Linked DNA regions of Homo sapiens: region 2 is linked to region 1. The links are contacts of gene promoters, found by promoter capture Hi-C in blood cells and fetal thymus (Javierre and others, 2016). All regions are on one chromosome and are shown on one strand. The core of a region is centred on a gene start or on the middle of the fragment in contact, and the rest is flanking DNA. Distances in the headings are between cores, read along the strand shown. Region 1 holds the start of PFDN5 (prefoldin subunit 5). Region 2 has its middle 3.4 kb from the start of SP1.

Region 1 (3,438 bases), core at 741-3,240:
ACTCTTTTAAAGTGATTTTCCCCAGTGTTTTATATGAAACATTTCCTTTTGATTTAACCTCAGTATAATAAAGATACATCATTTAAACCCTGTTTTGCGTAGTTTATCTGAGAACATTTAAAGACACGGCATGACTGCCCCCTTCCTACTATGTGGTACTGTAAGCTGACAGGAACAGGTTACAGCAGATCAAGTTTGAGTGCTTGGGGAAGAAAGGCAAAGACACAGGACAAAGCCTGCTGGGCCTGGCTGGGCCTCAGCAGACAAATCTGGAGGAGAAAGGGGCATCAAAATGCTAAGTAGAGACAGGCCCAAGGAAGGGTAGTGATAGACCCTTTGAGAGTGTTTTGGCCAGGTACCATCCGTCCGTCCTGTCTTCCTGCCGCAGGTATCTTTGGAGTGGCACTAGTGTTTTGTTTTTTGTTTTTGTTTTTTTTTGAGACAGAGTCTTGCTCTGTTGCCCATGCTGGAGTGCAGTGGCGCAATCTCGGCTCACTGCAACCTCTGCCTGCTGGGTTCAAGCGATTCTCCTGCCTCAGCCTCCTGAGTAGCTGGAACTACAGGCACATGCCGCCACGTCCCACTAATTTTTGCATTTTTAGTAGAGACAGGGTTTCACCATATTGGCCAGGCTGGTCTCGAACTCCTGACCTTGTGATCCACCCTCCTCAGCCTCCCAAAGTGCTGGGATTACAGGCGTGAGCCACCGCGCCCAGCCATGGCACTAGTTTTAATGCCTCAGTTGCCCTGCCTGCCTCCTAAGTAGATGTTAAAGGCTACTGCTGTCTGCCCATGTACACCTGTTACACTTACCAATGTGTAACTTTAGCAGTAGAGTCTGTGGATCTGTGGAGTTCTAGTGTGGTTTTTCTCTCCAATTGTTAAGCTCAAGGGAAGCAAGTATCTTACACTCTCACGTATCCCTCACATACAGCACATGGTAAAACCTTTTTTTTTTTGAGACAGAGTCTAGCTCTGTTGCTAGTGTGCACAATCACAGCCTACTGCAGCCTCAACTCTCCAGCTCAAGCGATCCTCCCACCTCAGCCTCCCATGTAGCTGGGACTACAGGCGTGTGCCACCAGCCCGGCTAATTTTTGTATTTTTTGTGGAGACGGGGTGTCGCCGTGTTGCCCAAGCTGGTCTCAAACTCCTGGGCTCAAGCAATCTGTCCTTCTCGGCCTCCCAAAGTGCTGGGATTGCAGGCGTGAGCCACCATGCCCGGCCAAAATATTTTATTGATTAATTTGTGCTGTACTTGGTTGACAATGGCGCTTCCTTGCTGTTCTCCCACCACCTCACTGGCAACGGGTGATAAACCCTTTTTCAGATCCTACTACGTGTCAGCCTACTTCCGGCTGGGGGAAGATGGTTATAGCGAGAGGGGAAGAATTGGTTCAGTGATGAGAACATGGTTGGTTCCTGCCTTCGACAAGCTTTCAATCTAATGCCTGTTTTTTTCCAAGGACAATTCAGAACGGTCTGACAAGGGATTTTTTTTTTTTTCCTGCCTTTCGGCCTCAGAGGCCATCTGGGAAAAAGAGTTTAGAATTTCCCTGCCATTTCCATGCCGTGCTGGGAGGAACATTTGAAATCGGGCCTGGCGGGGTACCAGCAGGCAGCAATAGCAAGCGGGGTGGAGAGGAGCAGGGCCAGGCCCCCGAGCCGTCGCCATGGCAATCCAGCCTGCTTTCCAGTAGCTTATACCACCCACGTGGAGTAGCATACACTACTTTGTAATATCGTGGTTGTGTCGTGAGAACTTTAAGATTTTGCAGTTCCTTGTAGGCAGGAGTCCTGTTTGCTGCTACTTTACAATACTAGGCTTAAGACATTTTATGAAATGAACTCACACAACAGTCTCTGAGAGGCTCAAGCCCCTCCTTCCCTTCCGGGACGGAGGATCATAGAGCTGTCTGGCGCAGCGAGGCCTCCCGGCGCCACCGAGACGCGCAGAGGACGGCTAGAGCGTTGCTCGCCGAGAGACTTCCTCTTCGTTAAGTCGGCCTTCCCAACATGGCGCAGTCTATTAACATCACGGAGCTGAATCTGCCGCAGCTAGAAATGCTCAAGAACCAGCTGGACCAGGTGGGGACGGGCCCCAGAGGCACCTCTTTCCTGCTCTACATCCCCCTTGCCCACGCGTACTTCTCGCGCCCGGTTCCAAGTTGGCAGCCTACCTTTCCCAGGCGAAACCTCTATCCGATCCCAGGACCTGCCCCCTCCCCGGCCGCGCTCCTTTCTCCCCTTAGTCCTCTCATTGACCCGCTATCCCGGTCCTCTGTAGGAAGTGGAGTTCTTGTCCACGTCCATTGCTCAGCTCAAAGTGGTACAGACCAAGTATGTGGAAGCCAAGGACTGTCTGAACGTGCTGAACAAGAGCAACGAGGGTATGGGGTAGGCGGGTGAGGGTAACCTAAAGTGGCGAACCTGCTTCTCTCGTCCCACCTCCTAACCCAGTTTTTCTTACCTGAAACGAGAAAATCCATTACATATCGTATACCGCTTCATGAACCCTTTGCATGTTGCCTGCCTAGAATTGAAAAGTACAGGACATTCCTCTGCTCCTATTGCCCCTGTTTCCGTTCTTTTCACACTGTCTGTGGGTGCTGTGCCCTGTTGGAACTCTCTTTAACGTCTTACGTTGGAGCCGCTAACCTTCCCCAGGTGTTTGTCTTCATTGCTTTCACAGGGAAAGAATTACTCGTCCCACTGACGAGTTCTGTATCCTTTCCACAGGAACGGCTACCTGCTGCCTTCTCCCTTTCTCCTTCACTCCCCCAAAAAGCGGGGAGGGGGATTGTTTTGATTACTTCAGATTACCCTCTCCTCACAATGATTTTGAGGATACCCTTTTTTTTTTTCTTTCTTTTTTGAGACGGAATTTCGCTCTGTCGCCCAGGCTGGAGCGCAATGGTGAGATCTTGGCTTACTGCAACCTCCGCCTCCCGAGTTCAAGAGATTCTTCTGCCTCAGTCTCCCGAGTAGCTGGGACTTTAGGTACGCGCCACCACGACCGGCTAATTTTTGTATTAATAGTAGAGTTGGGGGTTTCACCATATTGGCCAGGCTAGTCTCGAACTCCTGACCTCGTGATCCGCCTGCCTCGGCCTCCCAAAGTGCTAGGATTACATTACAGGCGTGAGCCACTGCCCCCGGCCAAGAATACTCTTATTACACACTTTGTAGCTCTTTTATCTGACTTCACACCAACATCCAGCTAATGTCTTGTGAACACCAAGGAGTATGTATAGTTGAGATGTAATATTTCCCTTTGCTGTTTGAGAACATTAATATGGAGATAAAGCTGGTGGTTTACACTTTGCTAATATCTTAGAAGATACAGGCAATAGACAAAAATAGGAGGATATAGAAACAGGGAGCTTGGCTCTGTTAATCTTCAACTTCAGCTTAATTGTGGCTCATTTCTAAACTGTC
Region 2 (3,438 bases), core at 644-3,143, 81 kb after region 1:
CCCTGAGAATCCAAAGTGAAAAGGCATCATCCCTGCCCTCAAATCGCTTAATGTAGTTGGGGAGACAGGATACTTAGATACCTCTAATGGTGGCAAATAAAAGGAGCACAGTGGCCAGTGTATTCAATAACTGAGGGGGGTAGGAAAGGCTTCATAGAAGTCATTCTTATAAAAGATATGAATTTGGCCGGGTGCAGTGGCTCACGCCTGTAATCCCAGCACTTTGGGAGGCCAAGGCAGGTGGATCACAAGGTCAAGAGATCAAGACCATCCTGGCCAACATGGTGAAAACCTGTCTCTACTAAAAATACCAAAATTAGCTGGGTGTGGTGGCGTGCGCCTGTAGTCCCAGCTACTTGGGAGGCTGAGGCAGGAGAATCGCTTGAGCCCAGGAGGCGGAGGTTGCAGTGAGCCAAGATCACGCCACTGCACTCCAGCCTGGCAACAGAGCGAGACCCTGTACCCCCAACAAAAAAAAATGGTTGGGCCCGGTGGCTCATGCCTGTAATCCCAGCACTTTGGGAGGCCGAGGTGGGCGGATCACGAGGTCAAGAAATCGAGACCATCCTGGCTAACATGGTGAAACCCCGTCTCTACTAAAAATACAAAAAATTAGCCAGGCGTGGTGATGGGTGCCTGTAGTCCCAGCTACTCAGTAGGCTGAAGCAGGAGAATAGCGTGAACCCGGGAGGCAGAGCTTGCAGTGAGCCGAGATCGCGCCACTGCACTCCAGTGTGGGCCATAGAGCGAGACTCTGTATAGAAAAAAAAAAGATACGAATTTTAAGCAGGGCATGGTGGCTCGTGCTTGTAATCCCAGCACTTTGGGATTGAGCTCAGGAGTTCAACACCAACTGGGCCACATAATGAGATCTCAACAAAACATCAAAAAGTTAACCAGGTAGCCAGGTGCAGTGCCTCACACCTGTAATCGCAGCACTTTGGGAGGCTGAGGCGGGCAGATCAACTCAGGTCAGGAGTTCAAGATCAGCCTGGCTAACATGGTGAAACCCTGTCTCTACTAAAAATACAAAAATTAGCCAGGCATGGTGGCACATGTCTGTAGTCCCAGCTACAAGGGACGCTGAGGCAGAAAGAATTGCTTCAATCTGAAAGGCAGAGGTTGCAGTGAGCCAAAGTCGCGCCACTGCACTCCAGCCTGGGAAACAGGGCAAGACTCCGTCTCAGGAAAAAAAAAAATTGCCGGGCGCAGTGGCTCACACCTGTAATCCCAGCACTTTGGGAGGCCGAGGTGGGCAGAGGATCACCTGAGGTCAGGAGTTTGAGATCAGCCTGGCCAACATGATGAAATCTCATCTCTACTAAGATACAAAAATTAGCCAGGCATAGTGGCGTGCACCTGTAATCCTAGCTACTTGGGAGGCTGAGGCAGGAGAATCACTTGAACCTGGGCGGCAGAGGTTGCAGTGAGCTGAGATCGCACCACTGCACTCCAGGCTTGGAGACAGAGTGAGACTCTCAAAAAAAAAAAAGAAAAGATAGACACTGCGTGTGTGCATGTAAGGGATCTGAATAGCCTTGATATAAGTTGGTTTTTTTGTTTTTGTTTTTTTTTTTCAGTCTAAAGAACACTTTTTCAGGTTTTTACAGAGCAATTGGACAAGATGGATCATGTCATTCATTTGCTCTCAGGGACTATCAATAAACTAGTATACGTCTAGGGCATTCCTCACTGGCCTCATGCTGAATTGTCTTCTTCTGGAGGAGCAAAGGGGAAAGGATTGTAAAAAGGATGATGGCTATTGAATTTCTGAATTTAGGTCTTTTTGTCAGTTTAATTTTATCCTAATTCCCAATTCGGGTGTAGTCTAGGACTATGGAAAAAACACAGGCTTTGGAACTAAACAGAACAGTCATAATTTAACTAAAATATCTGAGCCTCAGTTTTCTCATCTGTAAAAGGGGACAACTATCTCTTAAATTGGTAGGAATAATTAAATTAGATAAATATGTGAAATGTTTAGAATACTCCTCCACGGTGTTAAGTTTCCTCTCCCTACCTCCACCCCTAAGCAAGTTTAGGTATGGACAGTTGCTGAATGGACTAAACAGCTATTAGAATCTTCAGAGCTTGGTTTACAAAGATGAGTAATGCAGTTTCTTCCTTCCAGGAAATTTCTCCCTTTCTGGAAGTTTCTTTTCCCCAGTTTCTTCTCTTGGTGTTTTTGTTTTGTTTTGTTTTCTTTTCTTTTCTTTGAGACCAAATCTTGCTCTGTCGCCCAGGCTGGAGTGCAGTGGCATGATCCCCGGTCACTGCAACCTCCGCCTCTAGGTTCAAGCGATTTTCCTGCTTCAGCCTTCCGAGTAGCTGGGACTATAGGCATGCACCACCACGCCCGACTAATTTTTGTATTTTTAGTAGAGATGGGGTTTCACCATGTTGGTCAGGCTGGTCTCGAACTCCTGACCTCCAGTGATCTGCCCGCCTCTGCCTGCCAAAATGCTGGGATTACAGGCATGAGCCACTGCGCCCAGCCTTCTTGGTGTGTTTTAAACTAGGTTTAGGGCCTAATCACTTGAAAGAGCTACTTAAAAATAGGTTTAGGGTGGAAATCTAGGAATCTGCCTTTTTTGAAAAAAGAACCCAGAGGATTCTGAGAGTGTGTGACATTTCATTTTGAGAAACCTTGATACAGTGAGAGATGAAATTAATTGTCATGTATTCTGATAAATTTTATAATAAAGGTATCTAAGAGGATGATGCCATTTGATCCGTCCTGGGAGTAGGCTTTTTTTTTTTTTTTTCAGGAGCTAGACAGTAAAAATTAAAAAGCATCTATATATTTACTTTTTTTTTTTTCTTTGAGATGGAGTTTCACTGTCGTTGCCCAGGCCCGAGTGCAATGGCACGATCTTGGCTCACTACAACTTCTGCCTCCTGGATTCAAGCGATTCTCCTGCCTCAGCCTCCCAAGTGGCTGGGATTACAGACATGTCCCACCATGCCTGGCTAGTTTTATATTTTTAGTAGAGACGGGGTTTCTCCATGTTGGTCAAGCTGGTCTTGAACTCCTGACCTCAGGTGATCCGCCTGCCTCGGCCTCCCAAAATGCTGGGATTACAGGCATGAGCCACCGCGCCCAGTCTATATATTTACTTATTTTGGAGCAAGGTCTTGCTTTGTTGTCCTGGCTGGAGTGCAGTGGCAGGATTTGAGCTCACTGCAGCCTCAACCTCCTGGGTTCAAGCGATTCTTCCACCCCAGCCTCCCGAGTAGCTGGGACTACTGGCGCACATCACCACGTCTGGCTAATTTTTGTTATTTTTTGTGGAGACGGGGTTTCACCATGTTGCCCAGGCTGGTCTTTAACTCCTGGGCTCAAGCGATCCGCCCGCCTCGGCCTCCCATAGTGCTGGGATTACAGGTCTGAGCCATTGCGCCCGGCGGCAGTTTAATTCCCTCAAGAATTTATAGAAA

What was found. Contacts are between HindIII fragments. The CHiCAGO score rates a contact against its expected background, and 5 or more counts as called.
Region 2: a contact is called between a fragment that was not itself captured here and the fragment with the promoter of PFDN5 in region 1, in 8 of 17 cell types (erythroblasts, fetal thymus, M2 macrophages and 5 more). The highest score is 8.3, in erythroblasts.

What each region holds. Positions count from the first base shown.
Region 1 is chr12:53,293,552-53,296,989 of GRCh38, forward strand. PFDN5 (prefoldin subunit 5) reads left to right here and starts at 1,991. Exons shown (of 6, transcript NM_002624.4): 1 at 1,991-2,088; 2 at 2,288-2,390; 3 at 2,693-2,724. The coding sequence starts at 2,017. ESPL1 (extra spindle pole bodies like 1, separase) reads left to right here. Exons shown (of 31, transcript NM_012291.5): 31 at 1-87. RefSeq lists enhancers at 1,674-2,213, 1,699-2,898. The HindIII fragment of the contact is 3,517 bases long and covers 1,435-3,438 here.
Region 2 is chr12:53,375,063-53,378,500 of GRCh38, forward strand. No RefSeq gene overlaps it. Among named protein-coding and RNA genes, the nearest start is that of SP1, 3.4 kb to the right of the region's middle. The HindIII fragment of the contact is 5,800 bases long and covers 1-3,438 here.